Regions from separate parts of the Homo sapiens genome. Here regions 2, 3, 4, 5 and 6 are each linked to region 1. The links are contacts of gene promoters, found by promoter capture Hi-C in blood cells and fetal thymus (Javierre and others, 2016). All regions are on one chromosome and are shown on one strand. The core of a region is centred on a gene start or on the middle of the fragment in contact, and the rest is flanking DNA. Distances in the headings are between cores, read along the strand shown.

Region 1 (4,994 bases), core at 2,280-4,779:
CTAGGCCTCCCAAAGTGCTGGGATTACAGGCATTATCCACCACGCCCTGCCTCGCAGAGCACTTTCAATTCATGCACAAGCCCTTGAATCCCAAACACTCTTGGAGGCAGAGACTACTTTTATTCCAACTTTATAGATAAGGAAGCCAGGGCACTGTCAAGGGAGTTGCCTGGTGCCTGTAAGCAGGGAGCTGAACTGGTAGTTAGAGGAATTGCAATTCCCAGGCTCTGGTTCACTGCGCTACCTCCAGGAATGGGGGTGGAAGTGGAGGGAGGGGGCGGTGTTGCAGGAAGTACATTTGCTTCAATATGAACAGTTAAAATGCCTGGAAACATTAAGAAAGGGAGCGTGCAAAAAAAAATTTCCCTGGTTTCAGCCATTTCTTTCTTTTTTTTTTTTGGGGGGGGGCGGAGTCTTGCTCTGTCGCCCAGGCTAATTTTTGTATTTTTTTTAGAGACGGGGTGTCACGGTGTTAGCCAGGATGGTCTCAGTCTCCTGACCTCGTGATCCGCCCGCCTCGGCCTCCCAAAGTGCTGGGATTGCAGGCGTGAGCCACCGCGGCCGGCCTGGTTTCAGCCATTTCTAACCCTTTTTTAGGTCACTTCAAATAAAATTTGCAAATAACTGCCATGTGGAGAAAATATGCAAATGTTGCTAAACGGAAAAGTCATTCGGAGTGCTGTGAAAGTTGGCTCATTTATTTAGCTGCCTCAAGTGTGCACATCATTCTTTTTCAAAGTGAATGTGTTTAAAGACAAAGCTTTGTATGTTTTCCCGCTTCCTCTCCAATTGGATATTCCAATTATAACGTATTGATTAACAAAATACCCTGGTGGTTTGAACCAAGTATGCCTATGAGCAGGGGTTAATTGAAAATAGGGAACTGCTGTATATTTCAATTCTTTTAGGTACTCCCATGGCGGTACCCTGTACTCGGCTCTACTCAAAAGTAAAACAAAGCCCAGAACCAGGGTAGTCAGTGCATCCCATTGTTGCTATATGCAGTTTGAAGAGCTGTCGGAACTCACAGTTTTCGAACCTGACTCATGTTTACCCTGGTTCATAGGAAAACGAAACTGAAACAAAACCGAGGTCCTTCACCAAAACTCCATGAGAATCCACGAATCTCAGGGCAGGAAGGGACCCTAATATCATTAAACCTAGTGGCTCTCCAAGGGGCATTGTAGAAATCTGTGTATTTCTGGTTGTCACAATGACTGGCGAGAGCTACTGGCATTTAGTGGGCAGGAGCCAGGCACGCTAGGATGTTCTATGATGCTGGTCAGTCCCACAGAGCGAATAATTGAATCACTGGACACATGTCGGTGAAAAACTAGTTCATTATCATCTAAGCCTAGAACTAACACTGTTTTACATATGAACACAAAGTATCTTTGCCCAGTTTCCATATATCCTGAATTTTCCACAAATGCAGGTACTGTTTCAATTGAAGGAAGATTGTACTGTTTTATTTAAAAATTATTAATAGTTCATCATTTTGGAAAATGAGGTTCCTAGTAGCAATGCTGCTCATGGAACTTGAGTTGTGAAATCAACACACCTTTCCAGTTTGCATTTGTGGCTCTACTGGGCAAGTGTCTTCCCACCAGTTAGTGTAGCTGTGCGGCGGCATTTACATATTATAATACATTGTTTTATTATAATCATTTTGCTTTCGTTTGTTGACAGATCATGTTTTTTGAAATTGTGTTTGTAGGTTTACATAAACAATTTAGGTTTTGTTATTTCAGTATAGGTAAAGGGGGCGTTAGAAAATACTCGTTATGAAAAGGAGTTGGGTCTTTCACAGGGTTATGGAATGTAGCAGACTCCTTTTATAGATGAGCAAATTGAGACCCAAAGCCGTTAAACAACTTGCCCCCGACAGTGTGATATTCTCTCCCTATCTCGTTCGAATTTCCGTCTCGATTTTAAAAATTGAGAAGGGAGAGAAGTTATGTGTATAGTAAATTATGTGATGAGCACGAACTATTTGAATTCTGGCAGCAGAAGACCTTTTGTGGGGGTGGTGGAAACCACTGCGTTTTATTTAATTTCGTAGGGCTGAGGGTCAGAAGAGAGGGGAAAGCGGTCATAAGAAACTACGGATGTGCGGGCGCCGGCTCAAAGCCGGGAATCCACTAGTAAACACCTTCTTCTATTTAAGGGCCTGCGGCACCGAAGCCGGGACTTGGGGTGGCCTGCCTAGGAGGGAACCACAGGAAGAGGTTCCACCGACGGTAGAAACCCGGTTCCTCCTGTTCCTCATCCACCGCAGCGGCCTGAGAGTCACCCCGAGCCCAGGCCGGTAACCCCGCTGCAGCCCCTCCGGCAGGCCCAGGTTGCACCGGCTACAAACATTCCCGACACCCTTGGGCCCTAGAAGAGCCGTTCGCCACCCGCGGGGTCCCCGCAACGCCGGTGGTCACCGGCCCTAAGCCGCTGGGCGCCCCGCGGGAGGAAACTAGGGGCAAATGTAGCCCGCATTCCTGCGGAGAGCCGGGGTCCCGGGAGGGCGCGCCAGCGGCGGTTCCGGATCAGCGCGTGTCTGTCTCATTGTTCCCTCACCGCGGGGGGCGGGGGCGGAGGCGCGCGCGCACACGTCGGGGGGTTGGCCAGGAGGGGCCATTGTGTGTTTCTAGGCGGCGCCCCCGCTGCCTAGGCAACCGCGCAGGAAGGTGTCCGGCCACCTGCGCGCGCCGCCGGCTCCCCTCCATTTCCCCCCGACTCCCGCCCCGGTCACCATCCTACCCTCCTCCCTCCTCCTTTCCCCTTACTCCGCTCCCCTCTTTTCCCTCCCTCTCCTCCCCTTCCCTCTGTTCTCTCCTCCTCTTCCCCTCCCCTCCCCCGTCCGGAGCACTCTATATTCAAGCCACCGTTTCCTGCTTCACAAAATGGCCACCGCACGCGACACCTACGGTCACGTGGCCTGCCGCCCTCTCAGTTTCGGGAATCTGCCTAGCTCCCACTAAGGGGAGGCTACCCGCGGAAGAGCGAGGGCAGATTAGACCGGAGAAATCCCACCACATCTCCAAGCCCGGGAACTGAGAGAGGAAGAAGAGTGAAGGCCAGTGTTAGGAAAAAAAAAACAAAAACAAAAAAAACGAAAAACGAAAGCTGAGTGCATAGAGTTGGAAAGGGGAGCGAATGCGTAAGGTTGGAAAGGGGGGCGAAGAGGCCTAGGTTAACATTTTCAGGCGTCTTAGCCGGTGGAAAGCGGGAGACGCAAGTTCTCGCGAGATCTCGAGAACTCCGAGGCTGAGACTAGGGTTTTAGCGGAGAGCACGGGAAGTGTAGCTCGAGAGAACTGGGACAGCATTTCGCACCCTAAGCTCCAAGGCAGGACTGCTAGGGGCGACAGGACTAAGTAGGAAATCCCTTGAGCTTAGACCTGAGGGAGCGCGCAGTAGCCGGGCAGAAGTCGCCGCGACAGGGAATTGCGGTGTGAGAGGGAGGGCACACGTTGTACGTGCTGACGTAGCCGGCTTTCCAGCGGGTATATTAGATCCGTGGCCGCGCGGTGCGCTCCAGAGCCGCAGTTCTCCCGTGAGAGGGCCTTCGCGGTGGAACAAACACTCGCTTAGCAGCGGAAGACTCCGAGTTCTCGGTACTCTTCAGGGATGAGTCATGTGGCAGTGGAAAATGCGCTCGGGCTGGACCAGCAGGTGAGCCGCAAGAACCCCACCGGGCTGGCTGCTGCGTGAATTCCTCCCCTGACCTAACCTGGCTAATGGCGCAGCGCTAACCGGCACCCTTACTTTTCATTTTCTGGGTGCCCCGGGCTGGCGGGTGTGAGTGCCCCGGGGCTATAGAGGGATAGGAATGTTGGTTGGGGCTGTCGCCCGGGCCCGGTCTCGGCCCGCTGTATTGTCCCCGGGACGAGCACAATGGCGGCTTTTGTGTGTGCGTGCGCAGGCGGGCGGAGGGGGAGGAAGTGCGCGCGCTCTCGCGGGGACGCGCATGCGCGAATCCCGACTGATTAGTGACCTGGGGGGGTTTGCGGGAGTGCGCAGCGCGGCGGGACGCGACTGGAGGCCCTTTTGGCTTGGAGGGCTTCGGCCTTCACGGCTGGCGCAGCCTGGATTCCCGTCCGGAGGACCTGGCGGCACCCGGTGTTTGCGTGCCTGCGAGCAAGGGGTAGAACGCGGCCCAGGAATGTGGGAGGGGGCGGCCTTCGCTCGGGGTAATGGCGGCGGCCTCTTTTGTGTGGTGCTGGGCGGCGCTGTGGCTCACCTCCGGGAGACGGCGGGTCTCGGGCGGGCGAAGGCCTGGAAAGGAGGATGGAATGGGTTTCTTGTTTTTTCCCGGGTTCCTTCCGCTGGCTTTTTCGCTTCAGCCCAGGTTCCGCAGGGTCCGGGGGCCCTGCGCCGCAGCCGGGGAGGCTGCGTTTCCGGAGTGGAAAGTTTTGTGACGCAGAAGATTGGGGAGGAGTGGGGGAGGGGTGGGGGCGGGGAGGGGAGGCAGGAATTGGCCGCTGCGCGCTGGGCCCTGGAGATAGAGGTTGGACGTGGCGGGGAGGTTAGGGAGCCAGCGAGGCCCTTTCTCCTCCTTGCTTGCCCCAGATTGTCCCTGTGTGGTATGTTAGCCGGGAGTCCCGCGTTGTTTTTCTGGGGTGGAGGGGTCATCGCGGGTTGTGGTAGTGTCTTCGTGTTAGTGACTGTGATCCAGGAATCCGCCATTGGAAAAACACCCGGCTTAGGGGGGAAGTAAACAGTTTTGTTGTTGACTTGTTGCTATCTGTGGAGTAGAATCTTGCAATGGGTCCCAGGCCCCCGGGTTTTTTCTCTTAGCCAGAATCCCCTCTTCTAAGGGTTTAGGGGCAGAGGAGAGAAAGATGTGTGATTTGAGAGGAGAAGGTTATGGACTTTGGTGGCAGGAAGTCTGCATCCCACCGCAACAGTGGCACCAGGCTTCAGATAAGCTCTTGTGTGGGTTATGCGGAGCTTTTAAATAAACTACTGTCTACTGTGATTAGGGGAGCGTTGATTTCACAA
Region 2 (4,505 bases), core at 723-3,222, 760 kb before region 1:
TAGAGAGGAAGTGATGCTCAGTGACTTTCTAAAGCTAGTTCATAAAAGGTGCTATGGCTTCCACCTGGTTTTCTCCTTTTGGGGACACACACCTTAGCCTTTGGAATCCAGAGTTTCCATGGAATCCATCTGGTTACCCTGAAGCCACCTCCTAGAATGTCCATGTGTGGAGAGGTCATGTAGAAATAGAGAGAGAGTTGCCCAATATGCCCCAACACTTCCAGCCCCCAGATGTTTGAGTCTTTCCAGCACAGGTGCCAGGCATGTGAGTGAAGAAACCTTAAAGATGACACCACCTCCAGCCACTGTCTGACTGCAGTGGCACTGAGAGACCCCAAGCCAGATGCCACCCAGCCAAGCTGCTCCCAAATTCCTGATCACAGAGACGTGATCCTGCCTCTACTAAAAATACAAAAATCAGCTGGGCATGGTGACAGGCACTTGTAATCCCAGCTACTCAGGAGGCTGAGGTGGGAGGATCTCTGGAACCCAGGAGGTGGAGGTTGCAGTGAGCCAAGATCGGGCCACTGCACTCTAGCCTGGGAGACAGAGCGAGACTCCATCCCAATAAAATAAATAAATAAAGTATGGACTTTATTATTAATACATTAATATTGGTTCTGACAAATATACCACACTAATGTATCATGGTAACAATAGGGGAAAGTTGGATGTAGAGTATATGAGAATTCTCTGCACTATCTTTGTAGCTTGTCTATAAATTGAGACCTATTCTAAAATAAAAAGCTCATTCAAACAAATTCTAACTGGAAAGTTGAACCGGGCACCAAGTGGAAAGCTGAACTGTGGATGAAGGAGAGAGCAAATGCCGCACGAGAAGTCTGAACACCACGAGAGTTAGGAACATGGGGCTGTAAGCTCCTCCAGGGTGAAGTCTCAGTCTGAGGCACCCTTCTCTCCCCATCCCCAGTGCCACACCTAGTGCAAACAGAACTCAACTTCTGTGCAGAAGAAATGGGTGAGGACAATGACAATGCAAAGCCAGGCTTCCATGCTCCTCTGTAGGCTCTCCCTAATACCCAAGAGCGGGTCAGTGCAAGGTGCTCCCGCAGGCCGCTAGGTGCAGGTTTCCTGGAATGGCCCTGCTGGGGATGAGGAAGGGTATCTAGAGACTGAAGATTTTTCATTAATAAGTCATCGCATTCATAAAGGGGAAGTAGCTACCAGAGGTGATGAGAGAAGAGGGAGCACAGTTGTTTTCCTGAGGCTGGTAATGGATCCTTAATGACCAATTCACACTCCCGAGTCTAGACTCTTTCCCCTATGGTCAGCAGGACGATGCTCCATAACTGGGGGAAGCTGGAGTGTGATCTCCCTAGAGGAGGGAGGGGCTTGAAGACTGCTGGAAGCTTTAAACAGCTGCAGGGATGGGGAGGAAGGGAGGAAGCAGTGAGTGGGGCAGGAGAAAGGGTGGTCAGGCAGGTTTGAGGGCCCACATGACAGCCACTTCCCAGGGGTAGGGGAATTTCCACAGCAGCAATCAGCAGCCCATTATAGAAAAAGAAGGTGGGCAGCCACATGCTGGGAGGAAAGGGAATCAGGCTGTGGTTTTTTGAATCATGGGTTAAAAGCGGAACGGGGAAGGCAGAAGAGACAGAAGCGGAGCTGGTGGGAGGAAATAGAGGACCTGCTCACGACATCAAGCACCTCAACCAGCTCCTGTCAGCTCCAGAGATTCTGTCTTAAAAAGAGTTGTAGCAGAGATGAAATCTTGCCCTGTCTTTGCTTTTGTAATTATCTGTGCTACCGGAAAGGGGTCCAGATCCAGACCCCAAGAGGGAGTTCTTAGATCTCGAGCAAGAAAGACTTTGGGGCGAGTCCATAAAGTGAAAGCGAGTTTGTTAAGAAAGTAAAGAAATAAAGAATGGCTACTCCATAGGCAGAGCAGCAGCTTAGGGTGCCCAACTGATAGTACTTATAGTTATTTCTTGATTATATGCTAAACAAGGGGTGGATTATTCATGAGTTTTCCGGGAAAGAGGTGGGCAATTCCTGGAACTGAGGGTTCCTCCCCCTTTTAGACCATATAGGGTAACTTCCTGACATTGCCATGGCATCTGTAAACTGTCATGGTGCTGGTGGGGGTGTCTTTTAGCATGCTAATGCATTATAATTAACATGTGATGAACAGTGAGGACGACCAGAGTTCACTTTCATGGCCATCTTGGTTTTGGCAGCCTTCTTTACCGCATGCTTTATCAGCAAGGTCTTTATGACCCGTATCTTGTGCGGACCTCCTATCTCATCCTGTAACTGAGAATGCCTAGTCCTCTGGGAAGGCAGCCCAGTAGGTCTCAGGCTCATTTCACCCAGCCCCATTCAAGATGGAGTCACTCTGGTTCAAATGCCTCTGACATCTGGAAATTGAACTTACTGTGATCCTTTTACTCCCAGAAAATTCCCTCCATTTCATACTTATGGATAATAGAAACCATCATTTGTTAATTTATTCATTCACTCATTCATTCATTCATTCCTTCATCCATTGCTGTGTGCTTACAATGTGCTCTGTGCACATTGGGCACTGCTAACTTGGAGCTGAACCACGTGGAAATAAGCTTTTTCTTCTTTACCCCTTCAGATGGGACATAAATTCTCAGTTTATTTCCCTAAGATTTAGCTCTGAAGTTATCAGGGCCCAGTGTTCACACAGTGCATTATAAACACACAATATTAAATAAAGGGATGAATGAATAGTGAATGAACAAATTCACAAATAATGTTTCCTATTCATGTGAGTTTAAATATACTCATCCACTAGGTGCAAACTGAGAATACCCTACTTTTGAAAGTTTTTAGATACAATTTGATATGGTTACATGCTTACATCTTTTTTCTCCCTTTCACACAGCTACGAACTCTAACTTGCATGAGTCTTAAGTGGACAACTTATTGCATTTTCACCTATGTATATCCCTCATGTAACCACCACCTAGATCAAGACACAGAACATTACCGGAACCCCAGACAGTTCCCTTATGCCCTTCAAGTCAGCCTCCCTCACCTTCAGAGATAATTAATATTCTGACTTCTATTACCATAGATTCAGAAGACACTCTGCATTTGATTAGGTTTTTTCAGGGGAGTTGGGAAGAACTATCCCAAAGTCACTGAAGTCAGTATCCAGTGTCTCAATGAGATGAAGTGCCCACTAAAACTTGGAAATAGGTTTGTCCTCTGCCTCAGTCGGGGTTTAGTCAGGAAAACAAGATATATCAAGTAAGGCCAGGCTCGGTGGCTCACACCTGTAATACCAGCACTTTAGGAGGCCAAGGAGGGTGGATTGCTAGAGCCCGAGAGTTTGAGACCAGCCTGGGCAACAAAGTGAGACCCCCCATCTCTAATTTAAAAAAAAATCTCAGGCCAGGCGCGGTGGCTCACACCTGTAATCCCAGCACTTTGGGAGGCTGAGGCAGGTGGATCACCTGAGGTCAGAAGTTCAAGACCAGCCTGATCAACATGGTGAAACCCCGCCTCTACTAAAAATACAAAAATTAGCCCGTCAGCTGAGGCAGGAGAATCGCTTGAACCTGGGAGGTGGAGGTTGTAGTGAGCCGAGATCGCACCATTGCACTTCAGCCTGGGCAACAAGAGTGAAACTCTGTCTTAAAAAAAAAAAAAATCAAGCCAGGCGCAGTGGCTAACACCTGTAATCCCAGCACTTTGGGAAGCCAAGGCAGGTAGACCACTTGAGGCCAAGAGTTTCAGACCAGCCTGGCCAACATGGCAGAAACCCTGTCTCTACTAAAACATACAAAAATTAGCTGGGCATGGTGGCACACACCTGTAATCCCAGCTACTGGGGAGGCGGAGGCTGCAGTGAGCCGGGATCATGCCACTGCACACCAGCCTGGGTGACAGAGCGAGCCTCTGTCACAAAAAAAAAAAAAATGCTGACAGATCTTAAGAAAAGGATGTACTCATCAGAAGGTGAGGTTTGTCAGTGGAAGTATATAGGGAGCCTGAGAAAAGAATAAGGATAAGAATAAGAATAAGAATAAGAATAAGAATAAGCAAGCAGTGTCCAGATGACAACATGCTCATTTTAGCCAAAAATATTTTGGTTACAAGTCCCCAGACACCCAATCAAACCAGCTGATGCAAAAGAGAAGGTTGACATCACATCCATTAGGATGGCTACTATCAAAAAAAAAAAAAAAAAAAAAGGAAAGAAAAGAAAAGAAAAAAAAACTCAGAAAATAGCAAGTGTTGCTGAGGATGTGACAAAATGAAAACCCTTGTGCACTGCTGATGGGATTGTAAAATGGTGCAGCCTCTAAGGAAAATAATATGGCAGTTCCTCAAACAATTAAAAACAGACTTACCACATGCTATGGTTTAAATGCGTCCCCTAAAGTTGATGCCTTGGAAACTTAATCCCCAATGCAACAGTGTTGAGAGCTGGGACCTTTAAGAGGTGATTAGGTCATGAGAACTCTGCCTTCATGAATGGATTAATGTTGTTATTGAGAGAGTGAGTTAAT
Region 3 (4,351 bases), core at 741-3,240, 600 kb before region 1:
TCACCTTTCCACATCAGATTTCCTTGGCAGTCTAAGAAGAAAAAAAAAAAACGGATTAGATACATGCATACCTTCATTCTAATGTGATAATAGTCTTTACTTTGACTCTATTAAATACGTTAATGTTTCAGAAAAACTGGGTAAACAGCTACTACAGGCTCATGTAGCTACCTACTCTTTTTTAGATTTATGAGTTTCCAGCAGTATGGTTATAAGGCAAAAACCAACAAAAGAACATTTTTCTCCATTCAAAATACTTCAAAATGTATTGCATGAACCTTAAACATTTAAAAAGCCCAAGTCCCACATTAGCACACTATATCATAGGGTGTCAGAGAAAAGATTATTTTAAGACCAAAATGGTCACAGATGCAGAAGAACTTACTACTTGGTTGCCAGCCTCCCTGTATCCAATGGATACCTGTTTCCAAGCAATAATCCCTCCACATTGTGTTATGGTGGACAAAACTGGAAGCTAAGCATACAAAAGGACCAGTGTATGTCAAGGGTTTTACAGTAATTATGCTGCATGGTGGTTAGATGAAAAATTTTTATTGCTTTTAAACAGCTCCAACAGGATTTTTAAGTTTCTTTTTGCTAGTCCTCCAATACTGATAGCCAGCAACCAATGTCAACTTCTTCCCAGATAAGCTATACCATTTAACATTCACATCCACTGATGCCTAGAAAGATCCTTAATGCCTCCTGAATTGCCACATTCTGTTAACCTCTATCCCACAGTCCAAGATTCAATGGCCTAAACAACTCTCATGCCTCTCCCACAGCTAATCAGTTCTTGAAGTACACACACCCAGCCATTTAGATTGTCTCCCACCCACGTGCCACAGGAACAGAAAAACTAAAACTACTTCCAGAGGTTCAAAGTACAAGGAGGAGAAAATATTAAAATGATCTCTGGCTTATAGTTACCTCCTACTCTTAGGGTAGACGGTGAGATGGAAGTTAAAGTTATGGTCAGAATGATAAAGGGAACTAGGTGGGGGCTGGAAGGGCCAGCAGACCGGAGAGATGAAGCAGAAATTAAGGCCCTGTTAGAAGACTGCAAATAAAGGCAGCTACTGGCAAGTTCCTCTACAAGCCAAACCTCTTGAGAACACTCCTTGAGAAGCCACAGCCCTTGTTTTCACCTCAAGGGAGGGGGAGAATGAGAACGATGGGTATCTATAAGGGGAGAAGGGGAGCAGAGTTTCTGGGGGTAGAAAGAACAGGAATCATTGTTCCCACTCCTCCTACCTGCCTCAGAGACCCTAAAAGAACCATCTCATGTCAGCGGTAGTATCAGTTCAGGGACAAAAGACAGGCTTTGCTGCCTGCCTCCCCTTTCCCCTATTCCTCCTAATCTATTTGAAATTCTTTTATGGATAAGAAAGCTACCATTTAGAGTAAAAGTTCTAAAATGCAAATGTTGGGAAGTAAGGCATAGAAACTTATTTACACCAAAGCACAATAAGACAAGATTACATGACTGAGATCCTGGCATTTTCTGAATTAAAAGAAGTTTAAAAAAAAGGGGGCGGGGGGGTCAGGTACGGTGGCTCACACCTGTAATCCCAGCACTTTGGGAGGCTTGGTGGCGGGGGGGTGGGGTGCAGATCGCTTGAGTCCGGGAGTTTGGGACCAGCCTGGGCACACATGGCAACCCCATCTCTACAAATAATACATATTAGCCAAGTGTGGTGGCAAGTAGTCCAGCTACTTGGAAGGCTGAAGTGGGAGAATCACCTGAGCCCTGGAAGTCAAGGCTGCAGTGAGCCATGATTGTGCCACTGCATTCCAGCCTGGGTGACAGAGCAAGACCCTGTCTCAAAAAAAAAAAATAAAGAGTAGAACCTAGGTCTCTAAAAAGTCAAGGCAGAGAGTAAACTCTAGGATGAGAGCATGTATGTTGAGGGGGAAGGGAGGTGGACAAGCAGAAGGAAAAAACCCAGAAATCTGAGACCAAAACAAAACCACCTAAGTTGCCAAGGTTGTCCTTTTTACCTTCAATAGTTCACACACAAGCATCACATATTACTGAAGTAACTGTTTCCCTAAAGACTCATAAAGTATACCTCGAACACTGGCTCTACATTAACATATTAATCCTGACAGTTTTTAGGGAAAATACACTATTTAGGAACTTCCATGGTAAGTTCCCAAACTAATTAATTAATAATTACCACAATCAAAAGTGAAAAAAGTTGTATACCTGTGTATCAAGAACAAAAATAACTTTTCCTATTAAATTTCCCATGGTTTACAATTCTTTTTGAACAATATTTTTATTGATGCATTAAGCATGTACAGTTTCACAGTACATATAATTTCATACATTTATATAATTTGTAAAGATCAAATCAGTGTACTTGTGATATCCATCATCTTAAATATTTGTTTTTTCTTTATGCTGGAAACATCTGAATTATTCTCATCTAGCTATTTTGAAATGTACAGTAGATTCTTGCAAACTAGTCACCCTACTGAGTTATCAAACACTAGTTATTATTTCTTCTATCAAACCATATATTGATTTATGACAATTCTAAACATTCATTCATTCATGTATTAAATCAATAAATACTTAGTTAAGCCCTGTGTGCCAGGCATTGTTCTAGGCACCAGGGAAAGTCACAAACAAATCAAAATCTCTGTCCTCATGGGGTGGGAATGGACAACAAACTAATAATGTCAGGTGGCAATAAGTGCTGTAAAGAAAAATAAAGCAGCAAGTAAGAAGGACAGAGTGAAGGGGCAGAGTACTATTTTATAGGTGGTCAGAGAAAATCTTTCTGATAAATTGTATGTAAACAAGGACCTAAAGGACTAATGAGAAAGCAATTCACACAGATTTCTAGGGAAAAAGCAAAGGCTCTAAGATGGCAGTGTGCTAGGCACTAACAAGAAACATCAAGAAGGTTTGGAGGCTGGGCACAGCGGCTCACGCCTGTAATCCCAGCATTTTGGAAGGCCAAGGCGGGTAGATCACCTGAAGTTGGGAGTTTGAGACCAGCCTGGTCAGCATGGTGAAATCCCATTTCTACTAAAAATACAAAAATTAACCAGGTGTGGTGGTGCATGCCTGTAATCGCAGCTACTCGGGAGGCTGAGGCACAAGAATCACTTGAACCCGGGAGGCGGAGGCTGCAGCAAGCCGAGATCACACCACTGCACTCCAGCCTGGGCAACACCGTGAGACTCTGTCTCAAAAAAAAAAAAAGGTTTGGGAGGCAGAGGTGGGAGGACTGCTTAAGCCCAGGAGTTCAAGATCAGCCTGGGCAACATAGTGAGACTCTTGTCTCTACCAAAAATAAAAAAATTAGCTGGGCGTGGTGGCGCATGCCTGTAGTTCCAGCTATTTGGGAGGCTGAGGCAGGAGGAGCAGTTGAGCCCATGTCGAGAGGCTGCAGTGAGCATGACTGTGCCACACTGCACTCCAGCCTGGGCAACAGAGTGAGACCCTGTCTCAAAAATAAAAAAGAAACATCAGGAAGGGTAATGTGGTCGGAACAGGATAAGCAAAGAGGAGAGTTTCAGGACATGCAGTTAAAGAGGTAAGGGACAAACCAAAAGTGGTTAAGAGGTTGGAGAAAAAAAAAAGGTTAAGGAACAGAGAAGGCACATCATGTAAGGCCTTAAAGGTAAGATGACCACATGTTCTGGTTTTCTGGTTTGCCCAAGACAGTCCTGGTTTATGCCTCTTGTTCTGACATTATTATCATCAGCCCCATTATGCTCAAAAGTGTCCCGGTTTGGACTATAAATTTTATGGTCACTATACAGATGATTATCAATATTTTTTTTTTTTTTTTTGAGATAGGATCTCACTGTCACCCAGTCTGGAGTGCAGTGGTGCGAACATGCTCACTGCAGCCTCAACCTCCTGGGCTCAAGCGAACCTCCTGGGCCCAAGCAATCCTCCCACCTCCACCTTCCAAGTAGCTGGAACTACAGGCTTGGGCCACCACACCCAGCTAATTTTCTATTTTTGGTAGAGACAGAGTCTCGAACTCCTGGGCTCAAGTGACCCCCTCCCCTGCCTCAGCCTCCCAAAGTGCTGGGATTACAGGTATAAGCCACCACACCTGGCAATTATCAACACTTTTTAATCTCAGTGAGATGGGGAACCATCGAAGGGTTCTAAGCAGAGAAATTTTAAAAGAATCATCCTGGCTATTTTGTGGAGAAGAAACTATAGAAGGGGCAAGGGAACTACAGAGATACCAGTGAACTGACTATTGCAGTACACAGGTGAAGGATTAGGTGGCTTGGACCAGCACTTGGTGGAAGTGTTGAGAAATGGTCAGACTCTGAAGTCAAAGATAACAGGACTTGCTGATGTATGTAGGATGTG
Region 4 (4,335 bases), core at 1,558-4,057, 640 kb before region 1:
TCCCAGATCTGTTACCTGAGCTTGAAACACATCTCTGCCTGCCCAAAGGGTATTCAGGCACCTTAAACTTAGCAAAGTCCATTCAAACTCACATCTTTGGTGTCCCTGATCTCAGAAAACACTGCCACCATCCATCATTTGCCCAAGATAAAACCAAGAATCATCTTTGCCACTTTCCCCTCTTTCTCACCTTCAACACCAATCTAATCATAACTCGTGAATATTTTCTCTCCTAACTCCTTGTGGAACGTACCCTACTCTGAGCTACCAACAACTCTAATGTGAACCACTTCAACAAGTGGTTTCATTACTTTAGTCTTGTTCCCATTCAATTTATTCTCCATATTGCTATCAGGTTGAGCTTTCAAAAACACCTATCTAATGATGTCAGTTTTAGCTTAAAATCATCTGATAGCTTCTTAGTGCCATTAGGATAAAGCCTAAATTGTTGAAGGACATTTACATAGGCCTAAAGGATGTGACCCCTTCCTGCGTACATTTCCAGCCTCATTTCTCCCATCTCCTGCCATGCCGAACTCCTTTCAGCACAAAAATGCCAAGCTCTCTCTTCCCTCCAAGCCTTCACATTAGCAGTTATCCCTCTGGTTAGGACCTCCCACTGCCTCTGCCCCACTTTCCTCTGACTAATTCTCACCTCTCCTTCAGTCCAAGTATAACTGGTACTTCCTCAGGGATACCCTTCCTGACTTCTGAACTAGCCCATATTCCTCTGCTTTATGAACCCACAGCATTCTGAGGGGATGTCAGAATTCAAGCCTGACACACAGTCACACTCAATGCATATCTGCTGAACGAATCAAAGAAATGCAGAGAAAAGACATCCAAAAATACCAAGTGAGGCCAGGTGCAGTGGCTTATGCCTGTAATCCCAACACTTTGGGAGGCCGAGGTGGGTGGATCACTTGAGGCCAGGAGTTCGAGACCAGCCTGGTCAACATGGTGAAACCCCGTCTCTATTAAAAATACACAAAAACTAGCTGGGCGTCGTGGTGTGTGCCTGTAGTCCCAGCTACTCGGGAGGTTGAGGCACGAGAATTGCTTGAACCTAGGAGGCAGAGGTTGGGAGGCTGCAGTGAGCCAAGATCATGCCACTGCACTCCAGTCAACCTGAGCAACAGAATGAGACTCTGTCTCAAAACAAGCAAACAAACAAACAACAAAAAAAACAAAACCAAGTGATGCTGGATTGCCACTCCATAGATTAAAGGAATCTTCCCCCAGACCCTAGTAACTCTATGCAGAAATCCACAACACCCACAGGTTCTGAACACTGCTTTATGTTGTCTCATGAAAGAGAAGCAGCTTTCAGAGTGTGACTGCAACATGTGGCACCAAGTGAAACATATGACAGGGGCTTACTTTAATAAGCGAATTGCATGGCTGAAGCCATCACCTTCCACTTGCACTCCTTGATGTGGAATCTCCAGATTGGACAACTAGAAAGAGAAAAACAATTATATCAGACGACCAATTTTACAAAAACAACTACCATTTCTAAGTACTACGGTCTCTATTCTTGTGGCACCTGTTCTAGGACCATCCTTTCCCCAAGTTACAACATATTAGGCATGAGTATTATCCCCATCATTAGATTCCCTGGGAAACGACATGAAGTCCAGTGGAACTCAAAGCTGTCCCAGTGCATCTAGTTTAAGAAACACCTCCACAAGTGGCAAATATTCAAAATTTAGGAGATTAGTCTAATTTTTGCAGGGAGCCAAAAGTAATCTAGAATCAATTTTAGTAGTTCAAGAGGCCACAAGAATGGTTTCTCGTGTAATTCTCTTCTGTTTGTTCAAAACAATGTTTGAGTCACTGTCATAGCTTATTTCTAAATGATATTTTTTAGTTTACAACATTTCTGAAATACATTTTTAAGAATTAAACTACTTCCTATGTGAAACCCAAGAAAAGATTTCCAATTTGTGCATTTACCCAATGACATCTCTTTCCCAATTAAAGGATTCAGAAAGCAAATTAAAAAGATAAATGCAGAGATAGTGCCTGAAACCCTTTCCATGGGACTGCAAGTAATTACAGTATGCCAGAAAGTCATCTGATCTAAAGAAATGCTTGCCTTTGGCAGATATTCCCAGGTCTTGCATGACAGACTATTTATATCTACCATGTTCTGGAAAGGATTTAAGGAAGTTCCAGGTATTTGAGTGAGCCCTGCTCTTTGGGCCTGGGAAAGGGAAAGGTTTAGAAAAATAGCTGCTACCAAATAGGAAGTAGGGGTTCAGATTCAAAAGGAAATGAAGTGTGGGCCAGCTCAAAAATGTTGCTGCTATTCTATCAATCAGATATATAAACATCCGGCCAGATGCGGTGGCTCACACCTGTAATCCCAGCACTTTGGGAGGCCGAGGCAGTTGGATCACCTGAGGTCAGGAGTTCAAGACGAGCCTAGCCAACATGGTAAAACCCCGTCTCTACTAATACAAAAATTAGCTGGGTGTGGTGGTGTATGCCTGTAATCTCAGCTACTTGGGAGGCTGAGGCAGGAGAATCGCTTGAATCAGGGAGGTGGAGGTTGCAGTAAGCCAAGATTGCGCCATTGCACTCCAGCCTGGGTGACAAGAGTGAAACTCCATTTCAAAAAAAAAAAAGATATATAAACATCCCTTATAAGATGAGATTTAGTTTTAGTTATTCACATCTCAGCCTAAATTACTTTAAGCAGAAAATATACTTGCTTTTATCTTTAACATAGCTAGAATGTTCACTGAGAATAAAAAGTAGGTAAGTTTTTAAGAGCTTGACTGAGTTCAATAGAGAACTACAGAATGTTCATCTGTGTCCCATATGTGCAGCAGGTATAGGAATACAGAGAAGGTGGACAGAGAGGACGTATGTCTACAGTCATTAACCTACGTAGGCCTACAAAGACACACATTTTTGCCAATTCTGGCCTGTGGGTAGGGGAAGAGAGGATATAAATGCATTGCTTTGCCTCAGCACCACATATCCATCTTCCCTTCCCACTGCAAAGGTAGTAACTGAATGATATTCATATAATCAATCCAAATAACACAATAAAAGAGTCCAAGAACACAGTCAATTACATAGGAAACATGGACACACTCCACAGTTTAGGAGCTAAGGCCAGTATCCAGATAAGAGGACATTCATCAGGCTCACAGTTCTAGGAGCTGGGTCATCAAGGACATGAGTATTTATTTTAGGTGCCTGTTTCTAGGCTTGGGTTTCTCTCTGGGCTCTTTACAATTTCACACCTTATCCTCTGCCTACAGATCCCAAATTCCTGTAAAGCAGGAGTTGGCAAACAACAGCTCATGAGCCAAATCCAGCCCACTGCCTGGTTTTTTTGTTTGTTTGTTTTGAGAAGGAGTCTCGCTCTGTCACCCAGGCTGGAGTGGCTTGATCTTGGCTCACTGCAACCTCCGCCTCCCAGGTTCAAGCAATTCTCCTGCCTCAGCCTCCCGAGTAGCTGGGATTACAGGCGCCCGCTACCATGCCTGACTAAGTTTTGTATTTTTAGTAGAGACGGGGTTTCACCATGTTGGCCAGGTTGGTCTCAAATTCCTGACCTCAGGTGATCTGCCCACCTCGGCCTCCCAAAGTGCTGGGACTACAGGCATGAGTCACCGTGCCCGGCCCACTGCCTGTTTTTGTAAATGAAGTTTTTTACCGTAACACAGCCATGCTCATTTGTTTAAATATCAGCTCTGGCTGGTTCACACTACAACAGCAGATTTGAGTAGCTATAACAGAGACCACTTGACCGACAAAGTCTAAAATATTTATATTTGGCTCTTTACAGAAAAAGTTTCCCAATCCCTGTTCTAAAGCATGAAAGCTATTTTCAACAAATCTTCCCAAGGCCATCATCATCAGCCCAACTGAAAAAGTCCATTTTCACATTTCCAGGTCTCTCCTTCATTCACAATAACTTACAGAGGAGGGGATTCTTACAAAACATAAAACTTTAACCTACAGGGAAATAACTGGGGTTTTAGTGTATCACTTTTGAGGGGCTACCCATCCTTGGCCAAACTCCTTTTTGGAAATACAAAAAGTGCAGGTCTGTTACCTCCCTTTCACGTTTGAGGATTATATTGGATATCACAACTGCGTATTCTTTCAAGGCACTAATTCTGCATAAATCTATTGCTTCTCCCATGTGAGAAAAGTAAAAATTTAGTTTAATATTCTTTCTGATCTGCTTCTTAGAAAGGATCCCGGTTTTACTAGGGCTTAATCAATATACATGGCTTTACCAACTCAAAAATAAGCCACCTGGCTATCAACTAACCATCTCTAATAGGCTTAAACAATGCTCCTACTAAGAGG
Region 5 (4,418 bases), core at 1,845-4,344, 670 kb before region 1:
CATAGCACCAGGGGCCGTAGTTTACTGACCCGTTTTAGCAGAGTATGTTGATTATGCAGCTGAGCAAAATGAGGCCAAAGAGCTGAAAGCTTACATAGATGGTAAGTGGCATAGCTGAGGCTAGATCCCGGGTCTGATGATTACCATTTTGAGTGCTAATTTTAGTTTATTTTATTATTTTTCTTTCTTTTGAATGCTAATTTATTCAAAAACGTTTCCCCACCAAATCTTAGTATGAAGGTTGCAAAATGGCTTTACACTAAACATGGAGTGAATATTTTAAACATTCACCATTTTTAATTCTTTTTTTATTTTTTGAGACGGAGTCTCGCTCTGTTGCCCAGGCTGGAGTGCAGTGTCACCATCTCGGCTCACTGCAACCTCTACCTCCCAGGTTCAAGCGATTCTCCTGCCTCAGTCTCCCGAGTAGCTGGAATTACAGGCATGTGCCACCACACCCAGATAATTTTTGTTTTTTGTTTGTTTTGAGAGTCTCGCTCTGTCTGCTCAGGCTGGAGTGCAGTGGCACGATCTCGGCTCACTGCAACCTCTGCCTCCCGGGTTCAAATGATTCTCATGCTTCAGCCACCTAAGTAGCTGGGATTACAGGCGTGCACCATCACACCCAGCTAATTTTTGTGTTTCCAGTAGAGATGGGGTTTCACCATGTTGGCCAGGCTGGTCTCGAACTCCTGGGCTCAAGTGATCCGCCTGCCTCAGCCTCCCAAAGTACTGGGATTACAGGCATGAGCCACCACGCCTGGCCTTGTATTTTCAGTAGAGATAGGGTGTCGCCATGTTGGCCAGGCTGGTCTCAAACTCCTGACCTCAAGTGATCCGCCCGCCTCAGTCTCCCAAAGTGCTGGGATTACAGGCATGAGCCACTGTGCCCGGCCTAAACATTCACCATTTTGACTACCTCATTAGCACATGCATCTACCAATAATAACAGTAATTATAAATAATGAAAATGCCTAGACAGTATATTAAGGGCTTTACATGAACTATCTCAAATTCACACAACTGTTATCAGTTAGGTAAATACTATTATCTGAAGAAATTTGCCTAAGCACACATTAGCAGGTAGTATGGCTGGCTACAAACCCAGGCAGCCTGACTGTAGAACTGGTGCTCTCAATTATAAATTATCTCCTAAGGCTATCAGCATAGGATAAGTTAGAAGTCTCTTTTCTTCTTTTTTTTTTAGAAGTCTTTTTTCTACGAGAGTTTTTAAAAATTCAATTGTTCATTTATTTATTTATTTATGAAACACAGTCTCACTCTGTTGCCCAGGCTGGAGTGCAGTGGCGCGATCTTGGCTCACTGCAACCTCTGCCTCCCAGGTTCAAGCAATTCTCCTGCCTCAACCTCCCATATAGCTGGGATTATAGGTGCGCACCACCATGCCTGGCTAATTTTTGTATTTTTTAGTAGACGACGGGGTTTCATCATGTTGCCCAGGCTGGTCTTGAACTCCTGACCTCAAGAGATCTGCCCACCTCAGCCTCTCAAAGTGCTGGGATTATAGGCGTGAGCCACCGTGCCCGTCCTGTTCACATATTTAAAAAGAAGCTTTTGTCCTTGTAACCATAAATAATTTTCTTCAAATTTTTTTTCTCTTTTTATTTTTTTAGAGACAGGGTCTCACTCGATCACCCAGGACAGAGTGCAGCAGCATGATCACAGCTCACTGTAACCTGGAACTCCTGGTCTCAAGCAATCCTCCTGCCTCAACCTCCCAAGTAGCTAGGACTACAGGTGCATGCCTGCTAATTTTTTAAATTTTTTGTAGAGAGAGGGTCTTGCTATATTGCCTAGGGTGGTCTGGAACTCTTGGGCTCAGTGATCCTCCTGCCTCAGCCTTCCAAAGTGCTGGGATTACAGGTATAAGCCACCACACCCAGCCAATTATTTTATTTCAATAAAGACTCAGAGTCAAAATCAGCCTCCCCGCACGGGCACTCCAGAAGGCAAATAATTACTGGTATGCTATTCTCTGCAAGGCCAGATCCTGTGCGCAGTGCTCCTGTGTGCTGCAGAAATCTATCTCCAGGTCCATGTTAGCCATATAACATAGAAGCCACAGCACAGCAAACTGTATAATGCAGAAATATGTTAACATAAGAATGGAAAAGAAAATAATGGAGTCCATTTTTAATGCCAGGTTAGGGTGAAAATCATAATTCTAACAAGCTTGTTAAAGGAGGGAAGGTGAAGGAATGTCACGTTAGTTCAGATCCTATCCTGCAGGACAATTTAGCATTTTACCCTTAACAATCACCACTTAGAAGGTCATTAGGTACCCATACCGTTTCTTGTTGAATAATTCTTTGAAGATGTCGTCTCATGATGACTGATCCAAGGAATCTCTCAAGTGGAGAACAAAGGTAACTACCTGCCAGGCCGGGCACAAGGCCTGGAGTTGGAGAGGGCAGCAGTAAAATGTTCAAGGCACTGTGAGTGAGGATGGTAGGTATGGATGCCGCCCAAGAGCGCTGAGGTAGTTTACGAGGTGGAGGCATGTTTGTTGGCATTGTTTGAGAACCTTTTGGGAAGGAAAACATGTTATGTCATTTACAAATACATACTATCTCATTGCTTCCTGTTTTGCTTTCATCATAAATCTTTGATGTTCTAAATCATTCTGTACTGTTTTAGTTACTCCTTGTGGTGTAACAATCATATATTAACAACCTGTTAGCAAAAATGGCCACTATTTTTCTCCTTCTTATATCCAGGCCCCTTGCAATGTGACTTTGCAGCAACTCCTTTAAGGGGTGGACTCTATTTCTCCACCTGAAACCTGGCTGGCCTAGTATTTGCTTCTGACCAACAGAATGTGGTGGAAGTGACACTGGGCTAGTTGTAGGCCTCAGCTTCTACTCCCTGCCTTAAAATCCTGTTGAGCCACCATGTGAACAAACCTCAGATCAAGTGTGAAACCACACAAAGCAGAGAGAAACCTTGCCATCTGAGGCCATCTAGTCCCAAACCAACCCAGCAGCTGACTACAGACACATGAGTGAGCTGCCCAGCAGAGTCTGAAAGAATCACTCAGCTGTGCTTAGTCTAAACTGCCAACCTGCAGAATTGTGAACCAATATATAACAATCATATATTGTTTTAAGCCACTAAATGTAGCAAAAGCTAACCAATAAATGTGTACAATTCTCTTCTCTGTTATTATGTGTGATATTGTGAAATATATATTTGGTCTTTGTCCTAGCTCCTGGCATACAAATCCTAAAATTTTTGGACTCTTCAAAGTGGTTAAGTGTCCTTTTGTATGCTAATGAGATGGCTGATGGCTGGCAGCCCCTAGGTAGCTTCAGGAAGGGGGCTGATCACAGGAAAGACACGGCACAATTAGAGGGTTGGTAGTTTCAGCCCCACCCCCAAAGTTGATCACCAGTGGCCAGTGATTTAATCAATAATGCCTACGTGATGAAACTTCCATAAAAACCCAAAAGGACAGAGTTTGGAGAACTTCCAGATAGGCAAACATGTGAAGGCTCACAGAGGGCATGGAAACTGCACTCCCCTTATGCATCTCTTCATCTGCATCCTTTGTAATATCCTTTAAGTATCCTCTCTCAAAAAGTAGGTCATGACTTTCAAATGTGAGGATGCAACAAGATAGGTCACTTTGGGTTATACTAAAAAAGAACATAAAAATGTTGATGATACTTACTTGTTCCAGCTCGAGGGGAATGAGAAGCATCTGGAACCGGAGAATGTAGTGAGGGGTTGGCTGGTGACATTCCAGGCATGCGTGCTGCTGGTGAGGGGCCAGACACTTGAGGAGATCCTGGCCAGTTCCCTGCTCGTCCACTTGGTGACACCATAGTGTATGGGGAACTAGGGTCAAGAGTTCCTATAAAAAAGGTAAACAAATGATTCTCAAAACCTATATTTTAATAACTGAAAATTATTTGACAGCATTCAAATCTTTACACAGTAATAATTTTATTTTTTCTTCCAATAAGATGTTTCACTGAAGCTTGATGTGTGTTAACATGTCATGCCTGAATCTCTATTTTGTGTAAGGTACTTTTTAACATGATACAAAAATTAGAAAAATATAAAGCTTGAGAGAGGATAAAATTTACCTTCACACAAGCTTCAATGTATGTAATATGTAACAATGTATGCTACTATATGCATTAAAATATTAAGCAAACAATCTCAGAGTTCCTTTAAAGGCAGAAATATTATATTTTTAAACCAACTTTGACAAACCATATTTTCATTCTACTCTAAGTAGAATGAGGAGAAGGAAATTTTCCATATTCTTTATTTAGACTACGTTGACTAAGAAATGAACCAAGACTCAAGTTTTGAAAGCAGTGACTTCCTGAACAATTTGATATTTAAATTTCACCCTCCATTGGTATCTACGAAGATATTCAAAAATAAAA
Region 6 (4,400 bases), core at 1,180-3,679, 750 kb before region 1:
GTGATAGCATAGGAAGTTGAAAGTTAGGAAGCCCATTTCAGTTCAGTACAAGGAAAAACTTTTCAAAGGACTAGAATGTTAGGAAAATGGAGCCAGTTGCTGGCAAATGTAGTTCGTATATTGAGGTGGTGTCCCCATCACTGGTAGTATTGAAATAGAGGAGGGGTGACTTTCTGCCAGGTATCCCTGAGACATGCTTATACTTATAATAAGCAGAAGTTTGGACAAATGACCTTCCTCTGTATAGGAGTCCCTGACTCTAAGGTTTTCTAAAGCTCTGGGCTTCTGAAGGACTGTTGTACAGGCATGGAAGTTGAAACTACGAAGCTGGGGCAAAGTTATTTGGTATAGGTTTGCCAGAATTGAATGAGTAGGGCCGTGTCTCAAAACAAGGGTATCTCCAAATCAAAATATGGTTTTTTAAATGTGTATGGTACCTGGGGCTGGGCGCGGTGGCTCACGCCTGTAATCCCAGCACATAGGGAGGCTGAGGCGGGCCGATCACTTGAGGTCAGGAGTTTGAGACCAGCTTGGCTAACATGGTGTCACCCTGTCTCTACTGAAAATACAAAATTTAGCCAGGCATGGTGGCACACACCTGTAATCCCAGCTACTTGGGAGGCTGAGGCAGGAGAATTGCTTGAACCTGGCAGGCAGAGGTTGCAGTGAGCCAATATTGTGCCACTGCACTCCAGCCTAGGCGACAGTGTGAGACTCTGTCTCAAAACAAACAAACAAAATATGTGTATGGTTCTTGGGAAGCATAGGTCTCTTGGTTCCCCATTTTTCTTAGTGTTTGCAGTACTACTACTTTAGTGAACCAAGATATCTATCAGTTACAAAAGACCATTCCATTCTGCTAATTTTTTTGGTCTGTCTTCAGCTAGAGCAGTTTGGACATTCCTGTTCTGACAGCTGTGCCGGATTGAAATTTGTAACTCCCGTGTATCAGCACCAACCTGAAGCCTTTTATTTACTGTCAATACTGCAACACCAAAACATTTACTGTTGCTTCCAACTTTATTTCCATCCCCTGTTAGTGGTACTTTCCTTAGGTCAAGAGAATAACACTGATTCTTTACTAAAGTCTAATTTTCCCATACTAGGTGTGGCTAACATTTGTTCTAGACTTGGAGCCCATTTTTTTAATAGGAACCCCAAATTAAAAAATCAGCCAGGCATGATGGCATGCATCTGTAGTCCTAGCTACTCAGAAGGCTGAGGCAGGAGGCTGAGGCAGGAAGATCACTTGGGCCCTGGAGTTTGAGGCTGCAGTGAGTCATGCAGACTCAAACTCAGCTTGGGTGACATAGCCAGACCCTGTCTCTAAAAAAATAACTAGGTACAAATTTCATCCTTAAATGTAAACAACCAATCGTGTTCACTTTGGTTGCCCAAAGACTACAAAAAGCTCAGGGGCTCTGCCCTTAGGCCTGGCAGTGAAGCAGTTCCCAGGCAGAGTTTCTGTTTTCAAGGGTGCTCAGGATTTGGAGAAAAGTTCCTTTCAGTAACTGAAATTAGCTACTTGTCCCTGTGTAAGCTAGACATCACGAGGTTAATAGATAATGGATGAAGAGGCCAAATACCTCATCCTTAGCTGTGGAGAGCTTATAAAATAGTCCCTTTATTCTCATCTTTATCTTTTAATCCTGAATCCTTAGACTAGTTGACTTTATCATTACAGAATACCTTTTCTTACCCTCTTGACATGTCAACTACAAATACTGTTTCCTGGACTTTGTTTCTAAAGTCTGAAGTGTTTTTATGTTTCTACTTGTGACATGTATGCCCCCCCCCCCCCCCAACATTTGACAGTCCTTATTTCACTAGGGTTGCCTATGGGACATAAGGAAAGATGTTACCTATCCTAAGACATAGTAACCTGGTAAAATCTTATAGTGAAATAATAGGAACTTTATGAATTTGCATTGTGTAGAAAGGATTGATGGTAGAAATAATTTAGAGATTTCAAGCTTCTTCCTTTTTAGTCTGTGCCTGGGCTTTGTTTTTTGTTTTTTAAATTTTGGAGATATGCCACTGATTTCTAATTCCTGCCAAATTGCCACATGCCTCTTTAAGAGCCATCAGTAGGAAGGTGTCTATATCATTAGGAAACCCTGTTTTGTAGTTGTACCTTTGTTGATCTCTTTTTGAGACTTTTGTTTGTTTCTTGTTCTTATCAGGCAGACCCTGAACCAGAATAGGTTCAGAGAGGCTCTGATAGTTGTACTTTTGTTCCAGCAGAATGTGTGGACTTAAATTCTTAGAGTGATACTTTGAAAAAGAATTTGTTATTGTTTAGGACTCAGCATTTTGACCAGTCATAATTTAATACGCTAAGTCAGTGGTGAATGGGGAAACATGTATTATATTTAATAATTGTCAAGGTAAATGATTTATGATGTTGATAATTCATTTACTGATCTGTTTTCTTTTCAGGTGTTTTGGGGAACGAGTTTAGTATATTAAAATCACCAGGGTCTGTTGTTTTCCGAAATGGAAATTGGCCTATACCAGGAGAGCGGATCCCAGACGTGGCTGCATTGTCCATGGGCTTCTCTGTGAAAGAAGTATGTATATATTTTTTAAATGTTTGGAGCTGCTTTTAAGAACATTTTTACTGATTTCTGCTAATAGCCCAAAAAAGCATCAAACGAACGTAGGTACGTTTGGTACAGATTACAAAAGTTAAAAAGCTCATCTGGACCAGGCACAGTGGCTCACGCCTGTAATCCCGGCACTCTGGGAGGCCGAGGTGGGAGGCTCAGTTGAACCCAGGAATTTGAGACCAACCTGGGCAACATAGTGAGACTCCCATCTCAAAAATAAATGAATTAATTTTTTAAAAACCCATTTGTAGTTGGGAAGATTTTGGATGAGTGCTTCAAGCTTGGCTTCTGAAACAAATCATTAGAAATCATTAACTATATAATTATTTATTCATAGTAGTGAAATTCTTTGTATATTAGAGAATGCATCTGTCCTACTCTTAATAGGATATCTACTTTCTGGTTTTTTTTTTTTAGTATAGGCGATAGATTCACTATGAATGATAAAATATATATGCATTATGCCTGAGGTTAGGAAAATAATGTGGTCAGTAGCCATGGGGCAGCCAAGGACCTTGGTTTCCTAGAATGGAGCTATGACCTGTTGTAGTAATTGGCTGCTTATGTGATTGTAGGGGGCGGGAGGGTCTAGATCCAGTCAATGTGAGAGATCGAAAGGTAAGGGCTCAGAAGAAAGGAAATACAGCTTGCTCGGTGCTATCATCTCCTTCTCTTTGTAAGTCTGGTGCTTTTGATGTGGTCTCTAGATATATATCATCAGTCACTGAAAGGAACTTTTCTCCAAATCCTGAGCACCCTTGAAAACAGAAACTCTACCTGGGAACTGCTTCACTGCCAGGCCTAAGGGCAGAGCCCCTGAGCTTTTTGTAGTCTTTGGGCAACCAAAGTGAACAGGATTGGTTGTTTACATTTAAGGATGAAATTTGTACCTAGTTATTTTTTTAGAGACAGGGTCTGGCTGTGTCACCCAAGCTGAGTTTGAGTCTGCATGACTCACTGCAGCCTCAAACTCCAGGGCCCAAGTGATCTTCCTGCCTCAGCCTCCTGCCTCAGCCTTCTGAGTAGCTAGGACTACAGATGCATGCCATCACGCCTAGCTGATTTTTTAATTTTTTGTAGAGACAGGGTCTCGCTATGTTGTCCAGGCTGGTAGGTCTTTAACTCCTGGCCTCAAGCAATCCTTTCTGCGTCAGCCTCCCAAAGTGCTGGGATTACAGGCACGAGCCACCACACCCAGCCTGTACCTAATTCTTTTTTTGTTTTGTTTTGTTTTGTTTTTTGCTACAGGGTCCCGCTCTATCACCCAAGCTAGAGTGCAGTGGCCTGATCTCGGCTTACTGCAACCTCCACCTCCCAGGTTCAAGAGATTCTCCCACCTCAGCCTCCCCGGTAGCTGGGACCACAGGCGTACAACACCATGCCCAGATCATTTTTATATTTTTTGTAGAGACAGGATTTTGCCATGTTGCTCAGGCTGGTCTTGAACTCCTGGACACAAGGAATCTACCTGCTTCAGCCTCCCAAAGTGCTGAGATGACAGGCGTGAACACCACACCTGACCATCTAGTTCTTTACAACCTTAAACTTGACTACTGATGGCTATTAAAATAACTGAGAAATAATTATTAGTAAACTAATGATAGTTACTTTTAGTAGGAATTGTTTTATTTATAAAGATCTTAGTCTAAAGAGGATGTTTTAATGACCATCTTGCTATGTCTCTGTGAAAGATAAAAGTGATGCTGTATATGAGGGCAAAAAATGATGTGGGGGAAGAAAATTTCCATGGCTACATGAAGAAAATATTTTGTGATCTGAAATTTGAAAGGT

The links. Contacts are between HindIII fragments. The CHiCAGO score rates a contact against its expected background, and 5 or more counts as called.
Region 2: a fragment that was not itself captured here is called in contact with the fragment with the promoter of DDX3X in region 1 in 2 of 17 cell types (naive CD4 T cells and monocytes); the score reaches 7.4 in naive CD4 T cells.
Region 3: a fragment that was not itself captured here is called in contact with the fragment with the promoter of DDX3X in region 1 in 11 of 17 cell types (fetal thymus, erythroblasts, total CD8 T cells and 8 more); the score reaches 10.6 in fetal thymus.
Region 4: a contact is called between a fragment that was not itself captured here and the fragment with the promoter of DDX3X in region 1, in 1 of 17 cell types (naive B cells). The highest score is 5.1, in naive B cells.
Region 5: a contact is called between a fragment that was not itself captured here and the fragment with the promoter of DDX3X in region 1, in 4 of 17 cell types (erythroblasts, total B cells, naive CD8 T cells and 1 more). The highest score is 6.4, in erythroblasts.
Region 6: a fragment that was not itself captured here is called in contact with the fragment with the promoter of DDX3X in region 1 in 1 of 17 cell types (naive CD4 T cells); the score reaches 5.5 in naive CD4 T cells.

Annotation. Positions count from the first base shown.
Region 1 is chrX:41,330,633-41,335,626 of GRCh38, forward strand. It overlaps DDX3X (DEAD-box helicase 3 X-linked), which reads left to right and starts at 3,530. Exons shown (of 17, transcript NM_001356.5): 1 at 3,530-3,665. The coding sequence starts at 3,621. RefSeq lists a silencer at 2,351-2,840 and an enhancer at 2,931-3,160. The HindIII fragment of the contact is 5,677 bases long and covers 759-4,994 here.
Region 2 is chrX:40,569,374-40,573,878 of GRCh38, forward strand. No RefSeq gene overlaps it. Among named protein-coding and RNA genes, the nearest start is that of ATP6AP2, 9.3 kb to the right of the region's middle. RefSeq lists enhancers at 1,657-1,746, 1,757-1,836 and a silencer at 4,444-4,505. The HindIII fragment of the contact is 1,209 bases long and covers 1,369-2,577 here.
Region 3 is chrX:40,729,315-40,733,665 of GRCh38, forward strand. MED14 (mediator complex subunit 14) reads right to left here. Exons shown (of 31, transcript NM_004229.4): 2 at 5-31. Among named protein-coding and RNA genes, the nearest start is that of MED14, 4.1 kb to the right of the region's middle. RefSeq lists a silencer at 1,057-1,106. The HindIII fragment of the contact is 7,459 bases long and covers 1-4,351 here.
Region 4 is chrX:40,687,074-40,691,408 of GRCh38, forward strand. It overlaps MED14 (mediator complex subunit 14), which reads right to left. Exons shown (of 31, transcript NM_004229.4): 16 at 1,381-1,457. Among named protein-coding and RNA genes, the nearest start is that of CXorf38, 42 kb to the left of the region's middle. The HindIII fragment of the contact is 7,880 bases long and covers 1-4,335 here.
Region 5 is chrX:40,660,616-40,665,033 of GRCh38, forward strand. It overlaps MED14 (mediator complex subunit 14), which reads right to left. Exons shown (of 31, transcript NM_004229.4): 25 at 3,692-3,874; 26 at 2,310-2,545. Among named protein-coding and RNA genes, the nearest start is that of CXorf38, 15 kb to the left of the region's middle. The HindIII fragment of the contact is 1,807 bases long and covers 2,192-3,998 here.
Region 6 is chrX:40,586,547-40,590,946 of GRCh38, forward strand. ATP6AP2 (ATPase H+ transporting accessory protein 2) reads left to right here. Exons shown (of 9, transcript NM_005765.3): 2 at 2,440-2,570. Among named protein-coding and RNA genes, the nearest start is that of ATP6AP2, 7.8 kb to the left of the region's middle. The HindIII fragment of the contact is 916 bases long and covers 1,972-2,887 here.